4 separate regions of the Homo sapiens genome follow, and all the other regions are linked to region 1. The links are contacts of gene promoters, found by promoter capture Hi-C in blood cells and fetal thymus (Javierre and others, 2016). All regions are on one chromosome and are shown on one strand. The core of a region is centred on a gene start or on the middle of the fragment in contact, and the rest is flanking DNA. Distances in the headings are between cores, read along the strand shown. Region 1 holds the start of PLPBP (pyridoxal phosphate binding protein). Region 2 overlaps ADAM9 (ADAM metallopeptidase domain 9). Region 3 holds the start of PLEKHA2 (pleckstrin homology domain containing A2). Region 4 overlaps TACC1 (transforming acidic coiled-coil containing protein 1).

What was found. Contacts are between HindIII fragments. The CHiCAGO score rates a contact against its expected background, and 5 or more counts as called.
Region 2: a fragment that was not itself captured here is called in contact with the fragment with the promoter of PLPBP in region 1 in 1 of 17 cell types (total CD8 T cells); the score reaches 5.3 in total CD8 T cells.
Region 3: a contact is called between the fragment with the promoter of PLEKHA2 here and the fragment with the promoter of PLPBP in region 1, in 8 of 17 cell types (naive CD8 T cells, non-activated CD4 T cells, total CD8 T cells and 5 more). The highest score is 10.2, in naive CD8 T cells.
Region 4: a contact is called between a fragment that was not itself captured here and the fragment with the promoter of PLPBP in region 1, in 1 of 17 cell types (total CD8 T cells). The highest score is 5.3, in total CD8 T cells.

Annotation. Positions count from the first base shown.
Region 1 is chr8:37,760,290-37,764,872 of GRCh38, forward strand. PLPBP (pyridoxal phosphate binding protein) reads left to right here and starts at 2,356. Exons shown (of 8, transcript NM_007198.4): 1 at 2,356-2,469. The coding sequence starts at 2,371. It overlaps LOC124901934 (a long non-coding RNA gene), which reads right to left and starts at 2,975. Exons shown (of 2, transcript XR_007060889.1): 1 at 2,638-2,975; 2 at 1-2,524. RefSeq lists enhancers at 1,905-1,984, 2,085-2,544, 2,122-2,416, 2,725-2,784 and a silencer at 2,044-2,364. The HindIII fragment of the contact is 3,991 bases long and covers 1,739-4,583 here.
Region 2 is chr8:38,997,222-39,001,804 of GRCh38, forward strand. All of the region lies in intron 1 of ADAM9 (ADAM metallopeptidase domain 9), which reads left to right. Among named protein-coding and RNA genes, the nearest start is that of ADAM9, 2.5 kb to the left of the region's middle. RefSeq lists a silencer at 1-388. The HindIII fragment of the contact is 252 bases long and covers 2,271-2,522 here.
Region 3 is chr8:38,898,540-38,903,122 of GRCh38, forward strand. PLEKHA2 (pleckstrin homology domain containing A2) reads left to right here and starts at 2,807. Exons shown (of 12, transcript NM_021623.2): 1 at 2,807-2,906. It overlaps LOC124901937 (a long non-coding RNA gene), which reads right to left and starts at 2,906. Exons shown (of 2, transcript XR_007060893.1): 1 at 2,674-2,906; 2 at 711-2,157. RefSeq lists enhancers at 1,219-1,408, 1,469-1,718 and silencers at 2,319-2,728, 2,809-3,478. The HindIII fragment of the contact is 6,068 bases long and covers 1-4,355 here.
Region 4 is chr8:38,789,779-38,794,361 of GRCh38, forward strand. All of the region lies in intron 2 of TACC1 (transforming acidic coiled-coil containing protein 1), which reads left to right. Among named protein-coding and RNA genes, the nearest start is that of TACC1, 4.8 kb to the left of the region's middle. RefSeq lists an enhancer at 4,193-4,487. The HindIII fragment of the contact is 1,142 bases long and covers 1,220-2,361 here.

The DNA.
Region 1 (4,583 bases), core at 1,106-3,605:
GGCACGGTGGCCCACGACTGTAATCCCAGCACTTTGGGAGGCCGAGGCGGGTGGATCACAAGGTCAGGAGTTCGAGACCAACCTGGCTAACATAGTGAAACCCCATCTGTACTAAAAATACAAAAATTAGGCGGGCGTGGTGATGCACGCCTGTAGTCCCAGCTACTCGGGAGGCTCAGGCAGGAGAATCACTTGCACCCAGGAGGCAGAGGTTGCAGTGAGCCGAGATCGCGTCACTGCACTCCAGCTTGAGTGACAGAGCAAGACTTCGTCTCAAAAAACACAAAAAAGAATAGAGGCCCAATCTAGTAAATGAAGCTACAACTACTTGTTGTCATAGTGACGTAACACCTGGATTATACATTCCCTAGATCTGTGAGGTATTTATGGTTTTAAAATGTTTTCCAAATAGCACATTATTTGAAGTGTTTCATCTCACCCAATCCTTCCTCTACACATCCCATCACCATGATCCCCTCTGTCCTCCCCATCACTCACTGCTGGCTCGCTCCTTCCCACCTGTGTCTCTACAGCAAGCATCTATTATGCTCACACCACAAAGGGCCATTCTGGTCATTTTAAATTTTTTTATCATTTTGGTTGGAGTACAGATGTATCAAGTCTAGAGACATTTTATCTGAACACAATTACTCCTAATGTTGGCAGTCCTAGTTTGCAGATAACCCAGTTAATGTGTACCAGGGTAAATGACCAGAGACTTCCCAAAAAGAAGTCCCTTATTTTAAGGATCTGAGGTTCTGCCTAATGTGACTTTCCCAGAGCAGAAGATGTGAAATTCCATCTCTGTTCCTGGGAGTCTGGGGAAAAACTGTGAGAGGAGAGAGTAAGAATATTGCCCCTTCTTTCCGGAAAGCTCTAATAAACCCCATCACCTCAAGACAAGACCACCTGAAGAACAAACATTAGCCATTTCTCTAATATAATAGCATCCCACTTCATTAAGTTGAATTAATGTTTGAGAAACTTTCAACAGAAATTGCAGCCAAGAGTGCTTTCCTTAACAAAATTGATCTCCTTCTCCTTGCCCGTAGCACCTACTATTTCACCACCTGACTATGTAGCATTCTGTATTATTATTTGTATGGCCTGGCTCCTCATCAAGTTTATAACCATATTGCCCACAGAAGGGGACTCAAGAATCAAACTCAGGGCGTTGTGGTGCCCGTTTGTAGTCCCAGCTATTCTGTGAGGCGGAGGTGGGAGGATTGCTTGGGCCCACGAGTCCCAGATAATCTGGGCAACATAGCGAGACCCCATCTCAAAAAAAGAATCTAACTGAATGTGCTGAGCTCCTGCTAGACCATCTAAAGCTGCCTGTGGGCTGGGCGCGGTGGCTCGCACCTGTAGTCCCAGCTACTGGGGAGGCTGAGGCAGGAGAATCGCTTGAACCCGGGAGGTGGAGGTTGCAGTGAGCCCAGATCGGGCCACCGCACTCCAGCCTGGGTGACAGAGCGAGACTGTCTCAATAATAATAATAGTAATAATCATGCTGCCTGTGTCCCCTGATGAGACAGCACTGGCCGCAGGTGGCCGCTAACCTCTCGAAATAGGGATGGCCCGAATTGAGACATATGCAAGTCAACACTACACCGGGTTTCAGAAACACATACGATTTTCAAAAGAATTAAAATATCGCATTTAGTTTTTCTATTGATTGCATGTTGAAATCTTACTTTGGATATATTGGATTAAATAAAGTATATCATTAAAATTTTTAAGCTTATGTGCCTATGAGAAACTTCCAAATTACACAGTTGGATGGCGTTATATTTCTCTTGGACAGCAGTGGTCTGAAAGATGACAAAAATCACGATACGTTTGAATCACGCCATGTCTTTAGGGAAAAGAAGAAAGAAGAGTTTCCTTTCGTATCGCTTAGGGGTTCCTCGCAAGAACCATCTGACAGAGAAAAGCCCTGGCTCCCGCCCCAGTGGCTTCTAATTCTGGTCCCCGCGCCCAGAAAGCCGGGAACGGGCAAGCCTGGAAAGGCGTTTTGAAAGGAAACAGGATCCCCCGAGTATAGGATGCGTTTCTGCCTCACAAAAGTCCCTTGGGGGTGGGGGGACGGCAGCGGCTGAGGCGCAGGAAAGAGGAGAGCACACGGGGAGTGGCCCTTGGAACCAGGCGCGCAAAACCTCAGCCCCTAGGCTCCATTTCCAGGTTCGCGGGTGACCTCCCCAAGATGGCCGCCGCCTGGGGGCGGGCCTCCACGCTGCACGGGTGTTGATTGGGTGAGACGACTCAATGATGAGCAATGATTGGTTCACACGGCGCAAGCTGGGCGGAACCGGAAGATGGTGTGAGCCACGGGCTGCCGGGGGCCTGGGGCTCGGCGTCGGTCCCCGGGGGATGTGGAGAGCTGGCAGCATGTCGGCCGAGCTGGGAGTCGGGTGCGCATTGCGGGCGGTGAACGAGCGCGTGCAGCAGGCTGTGGCGCGGCGGCCGCGGGTGAGGAAGGAGGCTGCGTGGGGACGGTGGGCGGCCGCCTTGAGAAGAGGGACACCTGCGTGGGAATGGGTCGTCACGGTGACGCAGAGGGGTCTCCCAGAGAGGCGGGACTGGTCGGCCGCCTAGGGCCACCGAAAGGCTAGCGAAGGGTTTCCCCAGCCTCCTTACCTTGAGTCTGTTAGGTTTTCTGGAGATTGGCTTCGTTGGAGCAGAGGGTACCGCTACCTCGGGAAAATGACTTAGTGCCTAGGTGTCGTGGCCACTTGCGCACCGCGTCGTTTCGGGGTCGATAGCCTTGGCGGATGCGAGGGGGGCCAGGCCTGTGCCCACGGATGGTAAGGGGAGACGGGGGTACAAGAGCACCCCGCGGAGGCCAGAGACGCCCGAGATCGCGTGTGTGGCAGCGTCTCACCTGCTAAGTGCCCAAGAAATGCCAGTGCCGCCCGGAGGCCGAGGTGAGGGTGGACTGGCCGGACTTCGCTGGCATCAGAGCGGCACTTGTTTATGGGGCAGGAGGGAGAAGTCCAATCCCAAGCCGGTTAAGGGGAGCTTTCGTCTTTTGTGTATATATATATTACATCCTCTTGGACTTTGATTAGACCAAGAATCAAAATCTGCCCACCTCAGTGCAAGTTTAAGCTGAATGGTGTGGAATGAGACGGACCTTAACAGAGAGGTCACAGGTTTCTCTGATCGAGCATTTATGCTGGCTGAAGACAAGACCTGTATTATAGTCTTTCTTTGACTATTCCTTAGACGTTACCTTGAACAAGTCAGGTAACTATTCCGGCCCTCAGCTCTGAAAGCTCTGAGATCTCTTCTGATGTTAATATTCTGTGATTCTCGGTGATTCTCCAAGAAAAATCTAGGGCTTCCCCTAATAAACATCACCTTGGAGGTTCTCTCAGGGAAACTCTCAGGCAGATGGGCTGCCTGTTCGGGTAACTCTCTGGAAAGCGTCAATCATCAGCATACTCCCAGTAGTCACGACTTGGACTCAAACGAGGCTGGTTACGCATCGCTGTGGAAGGAAGGAAGAGGAGACATTTTTCTAATTGATCTGACTCCGTCACGTCCTTGAGAACACTGTGATTCTGTGAAAACTTCAGGGGATGATGGATACAAGAAGACTAAATCGTGCAAGGATAAACGAATCTCTTCTCTTACTGTTTCTATGTGGATTGGGTGGCAGCAGAACGCATAGAACCCCCGCTCTTTGTATAGTGGTCGTGAGAGGATGTCACATAGGTCTGATCCTGAATCCAGAATTTTTTGTGTCGCAGCCTTAGTTCTGCCACTGGTTCTTTTCTTTCTTTTTTTTTTTTTTTTTGTTGTGTTGTTTTGTTTTGTTTTGTTTTGTTTGAGACAGAGTCTCGTTCTGTCGCCCAGGCTGGAGTGCAGTGGCACGATCTTGGCTCACCGCAACCTCCACCTCCCGGGTTCACGCAATTCTCCTGCCTCAGCCTCCTGAGTAGCTGGGATTACAGGCACACACCACCACACCTGGCTAATTTTTTGTGTATTTTTAGTAGAGACAGGGTTTCATTATGTTGGCCAGACTGTTGTTTTTTGTTTTATTTTGAGACGGAGTCTCACTCTGTCACCCAGGCTGGAGTGCAATGGCACAGCCTCAGCTCACTGCAACCTCCACCTCCCGGATTCAAGCAATTCTCCTGCCTTAGCTTCCCAAGTAGCTCGGATTACAGATGCCCACCACCACACCTGGCTAAGTTTTAGTATTTTAATAGAGATGGGGTTTCACCTTTTGGCCAGGCTGGTCTCGAACTCGTAACTTCAGGTGATCCACCCACCTCGGCCTCCCACAGTGCAGGGATTACAGGCGTGTGGCTCACCTGGCCATGCCACTGGTTCTTAATTCACAGATTGAACAATCAATTACTTAGTTACCTAAGTGGGCCACTTTTAGAGTAAATGGGGCAGTGTTATTATGGTGTAATGATACACCAGGACTAGAATGAGTCGCCAAACTGCTAACGTTTGGGTTTCAGAAGCCAGAAGTGACCTCTCTTTTACTTAGAGTGCAGCCTTCTATTAATGAAGTGATTCTTAAGCCTCCAACATTAGTATGTCTTAGAGTCATCTGGAGAGATTGT
Region 2 (4,583 bases), core at 1,147-3,646, 1.2 Mb after region 1:
TGAACCTGTGGTGCCTGGGAGTGGAGGGGCCCGGCCTGGGGATCGGACCCGGGGTCGGGGGGCGCGGCCGCTCCAGGTGTGTGCGGACCGGGGTCGCACCCGAGGCGCGGGGTTTGGCGCCCCAAGCCCTTCTTGGCCCGGGTCCTCTGCCCGGCACCGCTTCCTCCGTGTCCTGTTCGATGGAGCCGTTCCCAGCGTCCCCCCATCCCTCGCCGCCTCGCGCGACCCCGGGTCCCCCAGACGCCCCGAAACCCGCTCTGGGGCGGGCGCTGACCTCGGCGGGCCGGAGCCCTGCAGGCTGGGCGCGCCCGCGGGCGTTCAGTCCTCCAAACGCCTGCAGGGAGGGAGCTGGCTCTCGCTCGTGGAGTTAATGTCGCTTGGAAAGAGACTGAGAGATGAAACTTTTGCTGCAGGTTATAATTTGAAATTTTGACGTTCATGGTATCCTTGGGTCAACACAGCTAAATTTAATGGTGGAATAAAGGTGGGTGGGAGGACGCTCATTTCTCTTGGGTCATTTTTGTAGTAAGAATATTTTGTAAACGATGTGCTACCTTTCTATAGCCAAACCATTCTTAAAAAATCTGTGTTTTTATTGGGTTCGTACTGTGTTAAATCCGGACAGATAATCCCTGCTCTTTTGAACTCACAGGATTATTGTAGGAATTAAATCATTTGTGTGAAATCGTTTTTGAATTGTGAAACTGCCCTTGACTATGTAAGATACTTGTATTGGAGATGCCCAAACATAGTGGAAGCAGATTGTCAGCACGCTGGCGTCTTTCTGGAAACAAGTTGTTTATTTTGGATTTTGTATGATATAATTGTTTGCATGGCTGTATTTTCTCTATCAGCGACAGAGGATGATGGAGAATGGGAGTTTTTACTAAATCATTGATTGAAAGTTATTCAAAGGTGATGATAGAAGATTTCAACGCAGGACTGTTGACCTTCAGGAAACTAATTACTTGTTTTTCTTATCTTTGGCTGCTTTATTTGAAATTAAGTAAATTTGCCCCAGTGTGGAAATGTTGAAACTCTGACAATGTTTTGAATGGGAAGTTGCCAAATTTCTTCTGGTTAAAACTACTTTTCCGGTGGTATTCTAGATGGTTAACACTCACCGATGTTTAAGGTGAAGACGATTATACATCCGGAGTTTTATTAATCTGTGATTTTTTTTTGTGTTTGTAAATGTAAATAAGACTGTATTTTTAAATGTTAATATAAATTGTCAGTCATTACCGACCTGCATTAGGTGAGTGGAATATCCTGATGGTCTTTAACTGTGGTTTTGGCCAGCTCCTCACTTCGGCATGTGTATGCCCCTTCAAAGTTTAGCCACCGTTTATGGAACTCCTATAAACACCACACAGTTGATTGTAGAGGGGCAGAAGGTGACCAAATATGCTAAGCGCATCTGAGAGATGTTGGGGAAGATTTTTAGAGAAAATAATATTTGAACTGGGCTACATCGGTGATTTTTCAAGTAGAATAGTAGATACATTCTAAGCAGAGGAAAGTTTTTGCAAGAGTATGGTGGGGCGGGGGGCGTATGAAAGAACATGACTTTTTAGGAAATGATAAAAATGTCAATATGTCTTCATGCAGACTATAAAAGGGAGGGATGGAAGATCAAACTAAGGTAGGTTGTTACCAGTTGGGAAGAGTCTTCTATGCTGAACTAAGGGGTTTGGACTTCACCCCGTAGGAAGTTCTTTGGGCAGTGGAGGTTTTAAGTAGGGGTGCGACCTAATCTCATTTTCTGTTAAGAAAACGGGCAACACGGTGGAGGATAGAATCTAGGAGGGAGAGACTAGAGGCTGGGACACCGGTTAAGAGGCTTTTGTAATAGTGTGCAGTGAGTCAACTCTTGTTTCTCTCGGGGAACGTTCATACAAAATCAGCTGACCACATTTTTGCAGTATAAGGTGTTTAAAACGTGCACTGAAACATTTTCCAGGATCGAAAGAGGAATTTGAGGTACCAGGCACACGTCAGTTACATTAGGAGTTAATTAGGTTTTATAGGATTTTTACTACCTTTTATAACATTGTCTCAATGAGGAAATGCAGTATAATTTCCAAACAGCTAACTTTCAGTAAACTTTTTTTTTTTTTTTAAACTGACAAAGGTAACTGTGTCATTGTAAAAAATAAGCGGAATCAGGTATGAAACCTCTTCTGATTTTCTAAGGTAGTAATTATGAGGAACAGATTTAGAATTTTTTTTTAAACAAAGACTGGCATTCTAAAGAAAATGACTTTGAAAGCTTACTCATGGTGAGTCACTGTAAAATCATTTGTGTAGTAAGAACTTAGGTCCATACTAATCTCGTTTTCAGATGCCAGCAAAATATTTGAATTTGATATGTTTGTGTTTGTGCCGATAGGAGAATGTAGCCTTTTACATTTAAGAATGATTTGGTTTTCAACCTTTTAAGTAAAAAAGAAAGCATATATAATTAAAATATGTACAAACCTAGTTCCTGGTTTCCAAGACAGTTTTCAAAAAGCACTTGAAGCTTTAACTTACCAAATTTATATTTGCTCTTTGTAAAAAATCTGGGTTTATAATAGAATTTATTATGGAATCCCCCAAAAGATGCAAGCTCTAAGTAACTGGAAGCTTTTTCTTGGGAATATCCGCAAGCTCAAACATATGACATAGCCTCATATTTCTTTTTCCTTTTTGGTATGTAACATATACTGGAGGCTTGGAGTCATGCCATCCTTTTGAGTCAGCGCTATGGAACTGCCTCATAAATGAATGCAGTCCTTTTGTATCTCAGTAGCTAATCCCTCACAGTCTTTTTTTTTTTGAGATGGAGTCTTGCTGTGTCGCCCAGGCTGGAGTGCAGTGGCACGATCTCGGCCCACTGCAACCTTCACCTCCCGAGTTCAAGCAATTCTCCTGCCTCAGCCTTATGCCTGGCTAGTTTTTTGTATTTTTAGTAGAGATGGAGTTTCACGGTATTAGCCAGGATGGTCTCGACCTCCTGACCTCGTGATCCGCCCACCTCAGCCTCCCAAAGCGCTGAGACTACAGGCATGAGCCACCGCGCCCCAGCCTCTCTCACAGTCTTTGAATGGGTCTAATGTGGACCCAACTAAAGTTGGGTAGCACAATGTTGTTTGTATATTGAGAGATTATTGTAGTTTATTTTCCATTTCATGTTGTTATTTTAATCAGATTATTTTCCCTAAGTGATCATATGTGGGACACTGCTTGAGTCACATCTTTTTTTTTTCTTTCTGAGAGACAGGGTCTTGCTCTGTTGCCCAGGCTGGAGTGCAGTGGAACAGTCATAGATCACTGTAACCTCGAATTCCTGGGCTGAAGCAATCCTCCTGCCTAAGCCTCCTGAGTAGCTGGGACTGCAGGGGTGTGTCACCATGCTTGGCTAATTAAAAACTTTTTTTGTGTGTGGAGAGGCAATCTTGCTCTGTTGCCCAGGCTGGTCTCGAACTCCTGGGCTCAAGTGTTCCTCCTGCATCAGCCTCCCAAAGTGCTGGGATTACAGGTGTGAACCACCACACCTGGCCTTAAATCACATCTTTTAAGAGTGAGCTAGGGAACCTTAGAAATTAACTTGGTCCGTTTTAAAATATGCAGTTCTGTTTGTATTTATTTATGTTTATGGTAATGTAAGTATTGTGTTACTAAACCTTACTGGAAGAAAAGAAAATGATATCACCCCCAGACATGTTATAATGTAGGGCAGAACTCAAAGGGAATGGGACGTTCCCTTTGATGAATTGTTCTTTTAATGAGATTTTTCATGATTTAAGTCATTTTAGGATGATTTTAACGTCTTCCTTCTAGTAGTGTAGAATCTTCATATGAGTAGACCCCAGGAGAGCCTGATTCTAATCAGTCTTATTGAAAGGCTGAGAATCCTGTTGTGAAGATATCTTGGGCCTAACCTCCCATCCCAGCCACTTAAGAGAAGTGATTAAGCAGTCTGTGGATAGCAATACAATGAAATACGATTTTGCTATCAAAATGACAAATGTGTAGGCTATGTAGATTTGTAGAAAAGTTGATACAAAAGATGTTAATCATAAAAAGTAAGGTTCACTTTAAGTCATATGTGATAATTACAACTATCAGAACTATGTTTGTTTAGCTGTAACCATCAGAAGAGGTTATTTATTCAACACATATTTTATTGAATACGTACTGTACCAGTGCAGGAAGTACATGATGAATAAGATACCGTCCTTGATCTCAAAGAACTTAAATTCTTTGCTGGAGGAACTTAAATTGTCTAGGGCATTAAATCTTAGAAATGGGTGGTGTTTTTCCCAAAGGGACACTTAAACAAACAACAGAAGCCATTTCTTTTTAAATGTAAAGATGGGTAAATATTTAAGAAAAGTGTAACACTAAAAAAAGTAAGAGTGTAGACCTAGCAGTAGAAATTATAATTAAGTATGTTTGAAGGTAGTTTTTTTTTTTTTTGAGATGGAGTCTCACACTGTTGCCCAGACTGGAGTGCAATGGCTCGATCTCAGCTCACTGCAACCTCTGCCTCCCAGGTTCAAGCGATCCTTCTGCCTCAGCCTCCTGAGTAGCTGGGA
Region 3 (4,583 bases), core at 1,557-4,056, 1.1 Mb after region 1:
AGCAGTAAATGGGGCTCCAGTGAAGTATGAGCATCTCCCCGAGTGCACTGATGATGACCTTCCCTCAGCCCAACATGTTCCTGGCCTCCTCCCACTGGTGTCAAACTGTATCCATCTAAGTCCCATTTCAAAGCCCACTCCCTTCTTGAGCTCCCCCACCGTCCCCCCCCACCCCCCATCCCCCATTCAGAGACACATTTCCCTCTTTTTTATTTATTTTTTTTCTGAGACAGGTTCTCACTCTGTCACTCAGGTTGGAATGCAGTGGCATGATAATGGCTCACTGCAGCCTCAAAATCCTGGGTTCAAGTGACCCTCCCATTTCAACCTTTAGAGTAGCTGGGACCACAGGTGCATACCTGGCTAATTTAATATTTTTTATTTTTTGTAGAGATGAAGTTTCCCTAGTTGTCCAGGCTGGTCTTGAACTCCTGGACTCAAGGGATCCTCCTGCCTTGGTTTTCCAAAGTGCTGGGATTACAGGTCGTGAGCCACTGCCCCTGGCTATATCTTGTCCTTCTAAAAGTTGACAGCACTTACTCTCTGTGCCATTCCCAGGGCACAAGCCTGCTTCAGCCTTCTAGAGACACCTGTATTCTCTTGCCACCCAAGGCCTTCTGCTTCTCTTTGCCTCCCAGCATCCAAAACAGTAGTGCTCAGGAAATACTTGTGGCTCTGTGATGGAGTGACTCAGGCAGCCCCACGGGGAGTAGAGTTTTATGAGTTTAATATGAACCATACCCTGAAATCTGAGAAATTTACCTCATTGCTCATGCTGGAAACCCTCAGTTCCAGTCGGATTTGCTTGGAGCTGGATGGAATTGTGTTGCTTTTCATACTGAAAATGATCATCTAATTTTTAAATTTAAAAAACATTTACGTAGCACCTACTTCACGTTCGACAGGAATCTCAACACTTCACAAATGTTAACTCACTGACTTTTCCTAACAGAGGCATTGAGAAGTTAAGTAACTTGCCCAGGGGTCAAAGCCAGTAAACGGCAGAGCTGGGCTTCAAATCCAGGTTCCTTGCTTCCAGAGGAGATGCTCTTCAGTTTGTTCTGGTGCCTGAAACTTACAGATGAGTGGCAAAACCCTCCATGAACGGGGAAAAAAAAGACATTGATGTATTTATTTCAAGGGAAATGTGTGTGTGTGTGTGTGTGTGTGTGTGTGTGTGTGTGTGTGTGTGTGTTTTGCCCATCGTCCCCCTTTTCTTCCTCATTGAAAGCAAAATGCTCTAAAGCAAACAGTCTTTTTTCACACCTGAGACACCGGCGGTGTTCATTTTTGCTTTGGCAATCAAAATGGAAGAGGAAACTTGTGTGGTTTCATCACTGGTGCTTTCGGGGTGTGTGGGGCGGGCTGTCCTTCTCCCTCGGTCCTGGCTCATCGGCCCGAGCCCCCCTCCCCAGGCCTTGTGGCCTCCGGTCGGTCGTGGAGACATAAGAGGCCGCCTTTCCTCTGTTAACACCGGGAATGTGCCCCAGCCTCTCCCTCCTTCCTGCAAATCCAGTCCTTGTCCTGGAGAACCTCAGCGTCTTCTTATGCCTGCCTCTTTCAAAGCCTCGTAGGATTTACACCTGATTAACAACGTTTGCATTAGGATCGCCAGACACCGGCGCACGGCCCCGCAGGCCCGCGCGAATCTTCTACATTTTCATGTTTCGGATGTTGTCCACCTGACTTGATGCATATTCAAATGTCTCTCTCCCGACGTGGGAGGCCGGAGTCAGAACCTGACAGACCTGCCGTTTACTAACTGGGTACCCAGGGCAAATTACTTCACAAGTCTGAGTCTCGGTTTCCTCACCGTGAACCGGACTGGTACCCATAGGTTGCGGCGTGGATCAAATGAGATAGCGCAGGGGCGGGACCCGCGCACAGCAGCTCTCTTAGTTCCTCTTGGCGAGGTTTACGTAGTAACACATGCTTGTCTGTTTCCCATTTTTTCCCAGAGCACCCTCATGCTCTGGGGGCAGGAAGGGAGTCTTCGCATCACACCGAAAAAGTCCCAACGGGCACGGTGTAGGCGCCTGTGGTCCCAGCTACTCGGGAGGCTGGGGCAGAAGGATCGCTGGACCCAGGAGGTCGAGGCTGCAGTGAGCTATGACTGCGCCACCGCACTCCAGCCTGGGCGACAGAGCCAGACCCTGTCTTGATTAAAAAATAAAATAAAATAAAGAAATTAAAGTCCTTATAACCCTGGTTAGAGCGTTCCCGCCCACTGGTCTCTTAGGGCACATTTAGGACAACCTGAAGAAGCCACTCTTCTTGGGACCCTAACCCTTACCCCAACTCCTCGGTCCCCAAAGGCTAAGGGCTCGGGATCCGAAGGAGGCCCAGCTGAGGTCGCTGGGTGGGGCTCTGGGAGGAGGAAATGGGGTTCTTGAGGGAGCTCGCGCTCCAGCTCGCCTCCTCCTGCGAGGACGCCCCCTGCCCGGACACCTGCTGCCCGAGCGAGCGTCGGGGCCGGGCCTCCCCGCGGGGCAGTCTCGGCGCGCAGGTCCCACCTGCCAGGCGCGGAACGCGGGCGGCCTCGGGCGCAGCCTCCGGGCGCCCCGCCCCCGCCTCCCCCGCGCGGCCCCGGCGCCCGGCCGCACCCCCTCCCAGCCCGCGGCGCCCCGGCACCCCTCTCCCTCCCCGGCGGGCTCCGCGGAGCATTGTACTCACATCCGGGGCTGGGTTTTGCTTTAATGCGAAACGTAATTAACCCGGAAAAAAGAGCCGAGGGACGGGAGAGAAGGAGGGGGCACTGGGGGAGACCAGAGCGAGGGGAGCGAGAGGCGCGGAGAGTTTGGCAGGCAGACCCAGAAATCCCTGGAGCGCGGCGGACCCGGCGGCCGGAGGGGCGACCCCGCCCGATGTAACGCGCCCCGCCCGAGCCCCGGCCCCTGCACGGGGGGGTAAGTTGGGCGCCCTCGCGGGCTCGGGAGTGGAGAGGCGCAGAGGGGCGCGCGGGGGCTGGCGGGGCTGGGGGTGCAGGGGGCGCCCCGGCGGAGGCCTGGCGGCCTAGGGGCGCGAGGGGCGCGCGCGCAGGGCTGAATACGCCGGTCCTAGTGGCTGACAGGCGAGGGGAGGTGGCCGCAGACCCTGGAGGCCTCCTCCAACCCTCTGGGAGAGCCCCGAGGGCAGCCCCTCCTCCAAGTGCCCCGGGTGGCCAAGGTCGCCGCCGCCAGGGGTCGGGCTGCGGGGGGTGGGGCCGCGGAGAGGGTGGGGGCGGGAGTTCTGCTGAGCTGCATTTTCTCACGTTTGCAGCAGCGAAACTTCTCTGCGGGTTCTGGCGCTGGGGCACCGACCCCGCAACGACTGCCCGGGCTGCGGGAGGGGAGGAGAGCAGAGAACGTCCCCAGGCAAGTCCCTTGGGTACGGATTGGGCCATGGAGACTCCTCTTTCACTCCCCCGACTACCTTATTAAATGACAGGCCTAGAAGGCTCCCCTAGGGACTCCTGTCCTTTCCTCTGGGTGCAGCCTGGACTTCGGGCTTCTGGAACTCCAGACAGTGAAAAGGACTGCCCTAAAATGCAGGTTCGGTGCCAGGTTGGGTGAGCCCTCGAGGGGAGCTGTCGTTCTCTCTCTCACCAACTTCTTCCTCACCTTACACGCTTCCCTTTTCTCCTCCAGTCCTAAAGACGATTTCACCAAAATTTTTTTAAAAAGAAAGAGAAAAGAAGGGTGTGGGGGGGGGTGGTGGGAAGCTAGGCCGTTTAGAAGGGAAAAGTGTCCCTGCACGCCCAGAGAGGGGCGCAGGGCCCGCTGCGGCCGGAGCACCCTCACATCTCCTCCCCGGGGCCAGCCCTGCCCCCAGGCCCTAGCCTTAGGGTTTGGCTTCCTTCCTTCTTGGTGAACGCAGGTTCAGGATGTATCTTCCCCTTCTCATTCCTTCTTCCTGCCCGCCCCCTTTCTTTCTTTAGGGCTCCAAGTGGGGTTTTCAGAGGACAGTAAACGGCAGAGAAGAGGGAGGGGAGAGCACCCCACCAGAAAGCCAGCTGTGGCTCTGGGGGCTCTGAAGGCTGAGCTGTAGATGCACTTGGGGCTGAAGTCCCAAGATTGCACTAATGGTGTTCTTAATCTATCTGACCAAGTCCCATTTTCCCTTCTTTTGTCATTTTTTTTCTTTGGTTGCGAAGCCTTCCGAAACAGCAAAGCAAAAGATCTTGAAAGAATAGAAGTTTTTGCTTTCTATTTCAGTTGCATTCAGTTGACATGTATTATACATGCAAGGCAGTGATGAACAAAACACAACCCCTGTCTTTATTTTTTCTTTTTCCTTTACCTCTGGAGGGCTGGACCCTGTCTTTGGCGAGCTTACAGGACTTGTAAGCCCCCCACTTGTTTTGAGAAGCCAGAGTAAGCTTTTAGAAAGCATCATCATCATCTCAGACATTAGCCCTCTTCACCATGTGCCGCCTGAAGGCAGATGACTTTTGCACTATCAGAGGTCTAGCTTGTAGTCTAGATTATGGCCAGCCCAACGTATGACATGTACCAGGTGCTAAGTAAATGTTTATTGCATTAATGAATGAATGCAAACACATGAATTGTTTGCACTTGTCCAAATGGCAGAGAAAAGAGCAGTGT
Region 4 (4,583 bases), core at 541-3,040, 1.0 Mb after region 1:
GCTGCAGGGAGGCCGTAAGGTGGAGGGTTCATGGTACAGTTTGAGGACCAGCCAGGAGGTCAGTGTGGACTGACTACTCAGAGAGCAGGAGGAGCTGAAGTCAGCGTGGTCAGAGGAGGTCCAGATGCTGCTGCAGTGAGGATTTGGTTTTCAGTAAGGTGGAAAGCCACTGGAGGGCATATGCATTTCCAAGGGCTGCCATAACAGAGTAACTTAGCGGCTTACAATAACAGAAATTATTCTCTCACAGTCCTGGATAATTGAAATCAGAACCAGAAGTCTCAAGTCAAGGTGTTGGCAGGGCCTTGCTCTTCTGAAGGCTCCAGGAAGTCTGTCCTTGCCTCTTCTAGCCTCTGCTGGGTGTCTGCAATCCTTTGTGTTCTTTGGCTTGTGGCAGCAGAACTCCAGTCTCTGTCTCAACACATGGCCATCTTCTCCCTATGTATCTGTCTTACCGTGCCCTTCCTGTGAGGACACCAGTCGTTGAAGTTAGGGCCCACCCTAATCCAGTTTGACCTCATCTTAACTTGGTAACATCTTCAGAGATACTATTTCTAGATAAGGTCACATTCATAGGTACTAGGAGTTGGGACTTTAACATATCATTTTGAGAGACATAATTCAGCCCACAACAGAGAGCTTTGAACAGAGGGATTGTGATTCAGCTTCTTTTGTAAAAGGCTCCCTGGGCTGCTGTGTGGAGAAGGGACTCTAGGATGGAAGTCCTTTTTATGTGGTTTCTCTGTTCCAGTATCTGGCACTGTCACCCTGAAGTGGCAGCGCCAGCTTTCAGTTATCTAGCTACCTAAACTTTGTGCTGATTGTGACTTTCTCCTCTCCCTAATAAGTATTTTTATTGCTTAGCAACTTCTTCGTAGGTTGCCTAGGGAAGTCAAGTTACTCTGGTAATAGACTGCATGATGGAGCTGGAATTATTGGTAAAATGACATCAGCAAAAAGCTGATTTGGTTTTGCTTTAAATTGATAGCTCCATGCTGTGCTTACCCAGCTGAGAATTCAGCAATACCCTCAACTTGCCCTAGGCTGCATTTTGCCATTGTTCTAGGCAGGGACAACATGGGAATAGGCAAGCTTATATACTGGAGAATTTGTGTGCGACGCATAGCTGTGTAGCACTCTCAGTGATGAAGATAACACTTATTCCTCATAGCTTCCCTTTTCTTCCGTAAAGATTGGCAGATCAGAAGGGAGATTTTGAAGCTTGAAAGAACTATTTGGTGGCCTTTCCATCAAATTTAAATAAAGCTCATAAGACACATGTTAAGGAGCTGTTTGAAAGCCTTTTTGAATTGCCATCAGCTTGGGCGGCCCTTCCTCATCGTTTTGTCAGCTGCTAGACTGATTCATCCCGCCAGATTCTTTGCCAATTGAATAGAGGCCTGGATGACCTAGGCCCCCAAAACCACAGAGACCCAATTGTTTGGTCCTTCCTGTACCAGTGACTCTCACATTTTTTTCATTCTCTCTAAAAGGAAAACTTTTAAATGTTTATGGATCATGAAGGCTCTATGGGGTAGTTCATGAATGCAGACTGTAATTGTAGGGGTAGAGGAGTGTCCAGTCCAGGAAACAACCCTGCATATTATGAAGGCTTTCAGTTTAGGGTCTTTAAACAATAGGATGATTGCTCATCAACCTGGTCGTACCCTGACTTCCAGGGTCCTTGGGTGCAACATCCGGAGCTAGTCCAGAGTACCGCCAATGGCCTTGTCACACATACACAGCAAATGTGCAAAGACAGCCAGAGCACAGGTCTGCCTGGAGAGGATTTCAGTGGGCAGAAAGCCCTTCAGAGTCATTTCATATTGAAGTTTAATTTCTGGGACTGGATAAGTTCCCTTTCTCCCAAAATTATTGATTGTTTTGTTCCTGGTAAAGATAGTCTTTCATACTTTTGTGGTTCCAAGACATGGTTGGACCGCAGTTATAAATTATATAAGACTAAATCATTCTGGAAGAATGATTTACGAGGAGTTAGTCAGGAGTTGGAGTTGAAATATGTAAACATTCTGGCTTCCTGGTACATAATGGCCCTCAAACGTGTGGGCTACATTTACCATACCCATGGCTCCTGTGCTGACTTCTGTATAGTTCTTTGAACTCAGGGAAACATCTAAGACTATTTTGAAATGACTTTTCTTATACTGGAACTGCTTTAGGAACTTGCAGTATCTAAACTCTATAATGACTCTTCCTAAGAGTTGTATGCCAGGAGTTAAGTGGCGGATAAGGTTGTAGATTTTTTTTGAAGCCACATATAGAAGCAGGTTTTAGGCTTACTGGTAAAATAAAACTCTAGCTAAAGATATTTCCTGGAAATAACCAGACTGGTAGCTGTAAAGCTTGGGCTGGTCTGTATTTGCTATCTGTCTGTTTTCTCCCACTAAAGTTGTTTAATGCTGCTGCTGTTGTGGTGGTCTTTCTCTTTGCTGGGAAATATATTGGTGAAGAAACATCCTCTAGGAATGGACTTTTGAGGAGGTACAATCTCAAGTTCATCCTCTGTTTTGTTTTGCTTTGAGACAGGATCTATGTCTAGACTGGAGTGCAGTAGTATGATCATAGCTTACTGCAGCCTCCAACTCCTGGGCTCAGATGATCCTCCTGCCTCAGCCTCCTGAGTAGCTGGGACTATAGGCACACACTACCATGCCTGGCTAATTTTTTGTTTTGTTTTGTTTTTTGAGATAGAGTCTCGCTCTGTTGCCCTGGCTGAAATGCAGTGGTGCGATCTCGGCTCACTGCAAGCTCCGCCTCCTGGGTTCACGCCATTCTTCTGCCTCAGCCTCCCAAGTAGCTAGGACCACAGGCGCCCACCACTACGCCCAGCTAATTTTTTGTATTTTTAGTAGAGACGGGGTTTCACCGTGTTAGCCAGGATGGTCTCGATCTCCTGACCTCGTGATCCGCCCGCCTTGGCCTCCCAAAGTGCTGGGATTACAGGCGTGAGCCACCACGCCTGGCCAGTTTTTTTATTTTTTGTAGAGATAGGGTCTTGCTATGTTGCCTAGGCTGATCTCGAACTCCTGGCCTAAAGGGATTCTCCTGCCTCACCCTCCCAAAGTCCTGGGATTACAGGCGTGAGCTACCATGCCTGGCTTTTGTGTTTGCATGTGTGTTTATGGAGGACTTAGGGGTTGTGGCTTTGTGTAGCTGTTTCAGTCACAAAAACTGCAGTGGGTGCCCTCTGCCCCTTGAGTTTCTCCTTCACCAACATAGCCCCCCTTCCCCAAACACACACACCTTTATCTACAGATTGTTACCTCTCTCTGAGAAAGAGAATCTTAATTAGTGTAGAAGCTCTCACATCACCCTTGGAACAACTCGTTAAACCTCTCCAGTTTGATGTGTTAATTAAATGCCTAGGTATTTCAAACACAAACTGTAGTTCTCTGGACTTTTCCCCAGAATAGAAGAAAAGAGATAAATGGGATCTGTGCACAGATATTTACTGCCTCAGGCCTGTGAGGGAATGCCAAGTTGTTTGTTGACACAATTTTGGTAGTCTCGATCAGAATCAGCAAACTGTGACTCATAGACCAAGCCCTGCCTGTCCTGTTTTTTTGCATGGCCCTGAACAGAAGAATGAGTTTTACATTTTTTGATGGTTTAATGGTGATGTGTGAAAATAATGTGAAATCCAAATTTCAGGGCCCATCAATGGTCACACGATTATGTGAATTTACTAAAAACCATTGCATCATATATTTTAAAGGGTGGACTGTATGGTTTGTGAATTATATCTCAATAAAGTAGTTCTTAAAAAAAAACAAAACAAAATTTCAGGGCCCATCAAGTTATATATATATGAAATATATATTTTGGTAGATATGGGGTCTTGCTATGTTGCCCAGGCTGATCTTGAGCTCCAGGGCTCAAGTAAGTGATCCTCCCACCTCAGCCTCCCAAAATGCTGGGATTTCAGGTTTGAACCACCACTGTCATCCCCATAAATAAAGTTATTGGAATACAGCCATACTCATTCATTCATGTATTGTCTATGGCTGCTTTTGCTCTACAATAGCTGGGTTGAGTACTTGGAACAGAGACCAAATGTCTGGCAAAAGTCTAACATATTTACTATCTTGTACAGAAAAAAAATGTCAACCTACATCTATACTTATTACAATTTCAGTAAAAATACAGAGTTTAAGTAATTTGGGAAAATGGCTTTAAGAATGAAAAGGTGCAAGGTTATACCTGCTGAACAAATGAACTGTGGGCGTGAGGTGCCATTAGTCTAGGCCTGCATGTTCAGGGAAGGCCCAGGGGAGAGCCTGATGTGGCCTGGCTATTTGTCATATTTGCAAAGGGGAAGTGATGTAATTGGTCTGCAATGAACTTGATTTTCAATTGACTCAAAGATCTAAGGAGGAATAAAAATTATTTAAAAAGGAAATTAGGGAAGAATGGGGAGAATATTGGAATCATTTAATAGAAGTACAAACACATAGACTTTTAACTTTTGCCCATTAAATTTTTTTTAACATTTTATTTTCTTAAATTTTTTTTAAAAAAATAGTGATGGGGTTTCACTGTGTTGCCCAGGCTGGTCTCGAACT